3 separate regions of the Homo sapiens genome follow, and all the other regions are linked to region 1. The links are contacts of gene promoters, found by promoter capture Hi-C in human tissues and cell types (Jung and others, 2019). All regions are on one chromosome and are shown on one strand. The core of a region is centred on a gene start or on the middle of the fragment in contact, and the rest is flanking DNA. Distances in the headings are between cores, read along the strand shown. Region 1 holds the start of SLC10A2 (solute carrier family 10 member 2). Region 2 has its middle 51 kb from the start of SLC10A2. Region 3 has its middle 44 kb from the start of SLC10A2.

Region 1 (2,634 bases), core at 68-2,567:
GATATTACTCCAATCCCCAGCAAGCCAAACCGACCACTTTCTTCACATAATCAGAACGCTCGGTTCCAGTATTTCCAGATACCAGCCATAGGAAAACACGTTGTTCTCTCATTTCCCTTTAACCTTATCTAAAGCACTCAATTTCCTCAACCCTTAAGTCGTCATCTGTAAAATGGGAGTGCTAATCCTACTTAATTTAAGATGATTAAGTTGAATAATAAATTAGAATTTGTCCTACAAATTGTGAATCATGATCGGAATATTCAATTTTATTATTACTCTGTGTCCTAACTCAATAACTGGGTTATAAACTCCTGAAAACAGGACAATCTCTTCTCTACCTCTTTCTTTATCTTCCCTGTATACTGAAATACAGCGTTCTGCCCAGCATGAGGTCGACTATTTGACATTTACAAAAATCTCTCTTGGAATCCCCCTGCCAAAAAAAAAAAAATCGAATTTCAATTTATGACTCCAAGCACAAAGAGATCCTGTCACTTTGACCTAATTCTCTGAGGTTCATCCCTCTAAATAATTGTATTGTCTCCATCTATAAAGTACTCTGTTACTATGACAACGCACACATAATTGCATGTGTAAGTAGTTGAGGGTGGCTGTGCAAGTCAGACTCCTTTCCACCAGGAAACACAGAAAACATTCTATCTTCCCAAATGTTACTCTCTCAGATTTGCACCAAGACCCTAGAAGTTTCTTAAATTTCCATATACTTTATGGACACTACAAAGCAATTCCAGGAAACACTGATACAGTAGCAAAACTACTGGGAGTGGAAATTGGATGGAGATCTGGGTCCCAGTTCAGAGTCTGACACCTGATTTGCAACATAATTAGGCACAGGGCACTCAACTATTCAGGGCCCTAAACCCTTCTATTGAAAGGGAAATGGGAGAACAATATGTGTTCCTATGGCTCAGTCCCTATAAGATTCTGTACTATTCAGAGTTGATTTTAAGTGTCACTTAACTGAAATTATCCAACAAACCTTCATGGCATGAAACATTAACACAGCTCTTTTTATATGGCATGGTTCCTATGGCTCAATCCCTATAAGATTCTGTACTATTCAGAGTTGATTTTAAAAGTCACTTAACTGAAATTATCCAACAAACCCTCGAGGACATTAAACATTAACGTGGCTCTTTTTATATGGCATGGTTCATTATCATGCCAATAAATGATTAATCGTAACTCTCTGTCTTGACCAATAATTTTGCTGGACTTTTGTGATTCACAACGTGCTCTGTGTTGTAATGCTACCTCTTGAAACTGACATCCTAGCTTTATTGTTTTTTATTACTTCCCTAAGGTGGCTTTCAAAAGAGACACCAAGTGACATATTTTTAGGAGGGGTTTAAAAGTTTGATGGGGTAGAAGTAAACGTTGCTTAACTCAACCAGCAGCAGAGCCAGGGCCCAGGGACCAGCGCTTCTGTGGACTTGGCCTTTCCAGCAGCAGACCCAGCAATGAATGATCCGAACAGCTGTGTGGACAATGCAACAGTTTGCTCTGGTGCATCCTGTGTGGTACCTGAGAGCAATTTCAATAACATCCTAAGTGTGGTCCTAAGTACGGTGCTGACCATCCTGTTGGCCTTGGTGATGTTCTCCATGGGATGCAACGTGGAAATCAAGAAATTTCTAGGGCACATAAAGCGGCCGTGGGGCATTTGTGTTGGCTTCCTCTGTCAGTTTGGAATCATGCCCCTCACAGGATTCATCCTGTCGGTGGCCTTTGACATCCTCCCGCTCCAGGCCGTAGTGGTGCTCATTATAGGATGCTGCCCTGGAGGAACTGCCTCCAATATCTTGGCCTATTGGGTCGATGGCGACATGGACCTGAGGTAAGATTATCTATACCTCTAACTACTGCAATCACCTTGGAGTAATCCTTCCAGAAGCCTATGGCATTCTGAATGTCCAACTGATTTGCCACGCATCTAAAGTATGACTAAGGAATCAAACAGGAGAGAATAAATGCATTCCCGTGCCTTCTAGCACAGCTGCTTAGCTATTGGAATTGGGGGATTTATATTTTGTGTTTGTGTTTTTAAATCTAACTCAGTTAACAGGGAGTTGCATAATTGCTGTTGATCTCTAGGAAAAGATTCAAAGCTTTTTTAAAAAAGTAATCTTTTCCAAACCACAAGCTGCAGCTGAGGAGGTTTATCCTGTTGGTAGCAGGAAAAAAAAAGCAAAATACACTTTCTTTGTAATGATGAGGAGCTCTGGGTGCAATCATAAAATAAAACTGTTTGTCAAACATTAGAACCTGTAGTGAGACAGTGGTCAACTCCATCAAATATAGCCAGTTCTTTGGGCAAACATTTTCCTGGTATAAAACCTAAGGAAGAATTTGTAAATTTGCTTCACCTCTACTGGCATTAAAAGTGGGGGAAAAAGCCTATAGCAGCTTTTTTAAAATTATGCTTACCTTACTACAAAATAAACAGAAAACGTTTTCTCCACTTCCTACAGAGTAATCTAAATTGCAATGTTTGCCCATTTCATCCCGTGCCAGTCTGAACTAGCACTGGAAAAAAAAACTAATAGAAATAAGATGAAGCATTAATGTGACTAGATTGAGAAATTTAATGCTAAAAGTTGAATAGACAAA
Region 2 (2,634 bases), core at 71-2,570, 51 kb after region 1:
CTCAGAAATAATATTCTGTAAAATGCATTTTAGAAAAATTTGCATTAAGGTCTTTATGCCTGTAATTGGATTAATGTGCTGCTCGTCCTTGCTAATGTACTTGTAATTTAACTTGAACTTCCTAGAAATATACCCTAACCCAAGGGAACAATCCCTGGAGGGAGAATCTTATACAAATGGCAGTCCCTTGAAGGAGGTGAATGGCAGAGTTTTCCCTGCCCCACAAAATGTCATAAGGAAATGCAGTCCGCCTGGCACAGATGCCGCCAGCCCCTCCATGCCTGCTCCTACTGTGAACACCTACTGGGGACCCAGGAGTCTCCGTGGCAGGGCTTTTTTCAAAATCACATTTTTATACATAAAAGCATACGGATATAAAATCCCCGAGGAGAAAATTGAAATGATACGGTTTTATCACACAATATTTTTCTGCAGCATTTATTGAAAAAGGCATTATCACATGGAATCCCTTTGAATTGCATTTTGATTTGTAATTTTATTTATTCATGGTTTTCTGATGTCAAGGTGTTGTGGGAGCTTAAAATTCTATTTTAGATCCACTTAATTGTGTTTGAAAAGATCTATGAAAACAGTTCCTGCCGTGTGACTTGTCAGTGTTATCTGTGCTCTGGGAAATGGCTCCAGCAGCTTCCTGCAGGGGTCCTGCCAACAGGCTGCATTTTTTCTCACCATCACACTCCTCTCCACAACTAGCTCAAACCAAGCCTCATAAACCCGACTGACAAACCTCACAAATATCCATCTCCCCTCCTCTACACTCAGCTCCCCCTGTTGAAATGATATTGCTCCAGTGGTTGATGATATTGCTCTGATGGTTAATCAATGCTGGATTAACCAGAGCCTCTCCTAGCCTATACTTTTGCTTCTCCTTCTCCTAAATTTGTCGTCGTCCTCCTCATTAGCCTCTCCAATGCTCCCTCTCCTATTGCATCTACTACTGCAGCATCAGCAGATAAGCCAGAAAATAAATAGTGGCAAAATTCCTTCTAAGGCAGCCTCATTTGCAATGGCAATGGGAGGGAAAATGGACAATGGCCCATGGAGGCTTCCACAAGCTCATAATTGTGTCTATTTGCTTCCTTCTCAGTCATCTAACATTCATTCATTTGTCGAAAAGAAAAATTGAGGGCCTACTTTGCTTATAACAAGATATGATGGTTAATTTTATGTGTCAACATGACTAGGCTAAGGGATGCCGAGGCAGCTGGTAAAACATGATGTCTGGGTGTGTCTGTGAGGGTGTTTCCAGAAGAGATTAGCATTTGAATTAGTAGACTAAGGAAGATCCACTCTCACCCATGTGGGTTGGCACCATCCAATCCATTGAGGGCCTGAATAGATGAAAAATGTGGAAAAGGGTCAAATTCACTCTCTGAGCTGGGACATCCATCTTCTCCTTCCCTCAGACATCGGCACTCCTGGTTATTGGGCCTTGGGACTCAGACTGGGACTTTCACCATCAGGCCCCCTGGTTCTCAGGTCTTCACACTCAGACTTAGGCTAAATTACACCACCAGTTTTTCTGGTTCTCCACCTTGCAGGTGGCAGATGGTGGGACTTCCTGGTCTCCATTATCATGTGAGACAATTCTCACAATACATTTCTTCATATGTATATATAGATATATATATATGTCTCCTATTGACTCTGTTTCTCTGAAGAATTCACATTACTACACAAGCAGATATGAAGAATCACGATCTGTAGTTATTTCTCACCCAGACTTTCAATATAGTTGGGTAAAAAACCTTATCACAAAAAAAAATTTATAATGACACAGTGGCAAAACAACAGTGCATGTGGCATATTGCTTGGATTTTATAGAATGCATTCACTTTTTTAAAAAGCTTTCTTTAACTCCTACTATGTGCCAGGTAATATGCTTGGGGCTAGCGGTGAATGAATGAAAGAAGATCCCTTGCTGTCAAGGAGCCCACTTAATGTCTAGCAAGGAAGAGGGAAAAATTAATAAGCCCCTACAGGATGGTGAGACGAATGCTTTAAAAGGAGTGTTTCAAAAGTGCTGTAGAAAAACAGAAATTCCAGCCATGTGGGGATCTAGAAAAGCTTCCCCAGGAAATACATCCTGAAGTGAATTTTGAAGTGGAGAAAAAGTCTGACATGGTTGTAAAAGGGATAAGAGCATTTAAGTGAGGAAGAGCAGGAAAAATGTTAAACAGTTCATAAGTGAGAGAGAACATGCCGAGTTTGGAGAACTGGGGCTCATTTGCCGTGGATGGGGCATTTGTTGCACATACAGGTGTCAGGAAACAATGATAGGAGAGGAGGTGCCAGTCCAACCGTGGGGGGTCTAATATGTCCTACCAAGAAATACGGACTTTATCCTTAGGTAAAGCAGAATCATCGTCACATGTTGGACAAAGAAATCATGTAATGTAATTTGAATATTACAAAAATCACTGAGGCAGAAATACAGGATGAATTTAGGCAAGAACTAATCCAGGAGCGGAGAGAATGTGAACCAAGACTGAAATGGTGAGAAATCAAGGGTGATTTCCAAATGTCTGGCTTCAGAGAGTGAGGCAGTGAGGATTCCATTTACTAAAATATGTTTGAGGGAGACTGATTTTATTGGTTGAGTTTGAGCTGAAC
Region 3 (2,634 bases), core at 39-2,538, 44 kb before region 1:
AAATTAATGCATTTCTGACTCTCCTTTGAAATCAGACACCTTTTTTTTTCTTCCAGGTTAATTATATAAAGCAACTGCAATGATATAATGTGTAGTGACAAAATACTTTTTAAGTACAGAAGGAGGGGAGGCCAAGGCAGAACATGTAAGAAGATTTAGCTGAGACCCTTTAGTGTCTTCATAAAGGCTGTTTCAATCATATCTGTGGATACCAGGTGGCTGAGTATCTCGAGCCACCCACTGCTCTTACCGCTAGTCAGTCTTCTTGGTGATTCCAACCTTCCTAGGTGAAAGGGGCAGGTGTAGAAGGATAAAATCTTTCTCCAAAAAAAAATATGAGGGGAAAACCCTATAGCCAAGCATGTAAAACCTTGGCTCCTAAGTCTGGACCCACCCCTACTGACACATATGACTTCTAATAATTCCATCTCTCTGAAGCAAGGTGTCTTGCCCATGAAACACAGGCATTTGACCAATGTTGTCTAGATTTCTTTCTACCTCCAGAATCTTAAGTTTCTACCCAGCAGTCATCCTACTTGGAAAGAAAATTACTAATTTAGATTTCCTGTCCAAGTAATGGCATCAATCCTCCCCTCACCACAGGTCATACCAGAATAACAGCAATGTCTAGAGGGAAAATCCTCAATTTGAGCCTCTCCTGGGTCCCCCTGACAATTCAGATATATGAAGTGAAGGGAATGTGGTTAGAGTGCATTCAGGGTTTATGCACTTAACACAGAAAGCACCTGGCATGAGTACTGCCTTTTGTGACCTCCAGTGAGAACCACTGCTTAAAGCTTTGGAGACTTCTAACAGGCATTGGTCACAGGGTGTATAGCTTTTCCAGTGGTCCAGAAAACAAAACCGATTTCAGAATGGGTTGTAGATGTGCTGAGAGGTTCTAAGGGGGTAAAAACCCACAAAAATGCAGACACCAAGAATCAGTAAGGAAACAGACTATAAAACTAGGGGACTCATGGATATGAGGCAGGTCTGAAGGGAGTCTCGGTTGCCAGAATGAAGAACCATGGAAGTAGTCAGGGGGGTCTAACAGCCTCAAAGAGCAGTCAAGATACTTGAGGTTTCTGTACCTAGTTATGTGCAACGTGTCAAGGACCCTGAGTGAGCAATGGCAGAAGATTAATTGGGAAAACACTGAGAGCACAGGGAAGCGTTTAACAGAAACTACAACGCCGATACTGCCCGGAGGCAGGACCAGATGAAACAAAAAGTGATTATTAGACTCAGAAGAGAATTAAGATATGTATCTTGGGTGGACTGTACACCAAATACTCCCCCTATTTGTTACTAAAGAATCCCAGTGTTGCCCAGGGCATCAATAAGTTTTGCCAGAAATACTCAGATTCACTGCCTCCCTTGCAAGAATGAGGGTGGGGTGAGGGAGAGCAGGGTCCTGAGATACTTCTGGACCAGGTGAGGGGGAGAAAGCTGAAGCCTCCTTCTTGCAGCCATGAGGTGGTAAATGAGACGACAAAAGCCATAAGGTCAGGACGGGGGAACAGAACAGCAGGAGGAGACTGGGACTCAGGGATGTCACAGAACCACTAGACCATACCATACTTCATGCTTTAAGGGAAATGAACTGCTATTTGACTAAGCCACCTTACATGCAAACTATAATATTCAATAAGCCAAGTCACTCATTAATGACAGTATAATAACACCTCATGACTCCACGATGCTGAGGAATTGGAAAGCCTGGAAAACTCGTACAAGAGAACAGTTTCTGCTCATCCAAGGTCCGCTCACAGGAGCCAACCACAGATGTCCACCTGCTTAGAACCTCAGCACGTCTACGACCCATTCTGAAGTCGGTTTTGTTTTCTATGCCTCTTCGTAATAACATAATCTCCCTTGAGATTACACAAAATCAAACATCTTTAAGGAGCCAGATGAGCTCAGAACTTAAGACAAATGTGGCAAAATGCTCAGCAAATCCTTACTGAGTGGAGGCGCATTCATATCATTTCCATAAACAATGGAGGAAAGATAGAAAGGGACTCAGATTAGAACCATGCCAGAGTCCTGACATTTTAGATGATATTAAACCTACAAACTGGCACTTAAAAATGATGAGGAACACACAGGAGACAAGCACATGTGCCTCATGTCGCTGATTAAAGTTTGAAAGGAAGCGTTAAGACTCAGCTGTTATATATAATGCCTGAAGAATTTCAGATTAGTTGGAGGGAGACAAATAGAAAACTACTATTTTTTTTTTCTGACTCATGAAGAGGTACTGAGGCCCAAACACCTGGCTGCTGGAATAAATAAATTTCCTCTGGGCTATGTTGTATTTATTGCTTGCAGCGGGGAGCATTTGACTTCCGTATGGACTGGCCAGAGTGGATCAAGGGTGCGGCTAAGCCCAGTGATGTCCAACAAAGACACTGCAAGCAATGTCAGGCTGCTGTGTGGAAAGTACAAAAAAGAACATTTCCCCTTAGCCCAAGAGTTATTTTTACTGAGATAACCCAGACATTTACCAGAGCTTCAGTGCAGAGAAGCTGCCAGCAAAGCTTTCAGATGCAATTCACCCAGGAGGGGACTTAAGGAATCTTTCCCTTTCGATCCCAGGAGAATATCCTTCACCCCTCGTAGACTCGTGGTGTT

The links. Contacts are between HindIII fragments. The study calls those that stand out against the background at their distance.
Region 2: a fragment that was not itself captured here is called in contact with the fragment with the promoter of SLC10A2 in region 1 in 2 of the 25 tissues and cell types used here (lymphoblastoid cells and mesenchymal stem cells).
Region 3: a contact is called between a fragment that was not itself captured here and the fragment with the promoter of SLC10A2 in region 1, in 1 of the 25 tissues and cell types used here (lymphoblastoid cells).

The regions. Positions count from the first base shown.
Region 1 is chr13:103,065,100-103,067,733 of GRCh38, reverse strand. It overlaps SLC10A2 (solute carrier family 10 member 2), which reads left to right and starts at 1,317. Exons shown (of 6, transcript NM_000452.3): 1 at 1,317-1,861. The coding sequence starts at 1,485. The HindIII fragment of the contact is 6,207 bases long and covers 1-2,511 here.
Region 2 is chr13:103,014,296-103,016,929 of GRCh38, reverse strand. No RefSeq gene overlaps it. Among named protein-coding and RNA genes, the nearest start is that of SLC10A2, 51 kb to the left of the region's middle. The HindIII fragment of the contact is 3,730 bases long and covers 1-2,634 here.
Region 3 is chr13:103,108,707-103,111,340 of GRCh38, reverse strand. No RefSeq gene overlaps it. Among named protein-coding and RNA genes, the nearest start is that of SLC10A2, 44 kb to the right of the region's middle. The HindIII fragment of the contact is 5,400 bases long and covers 1-2,634 here.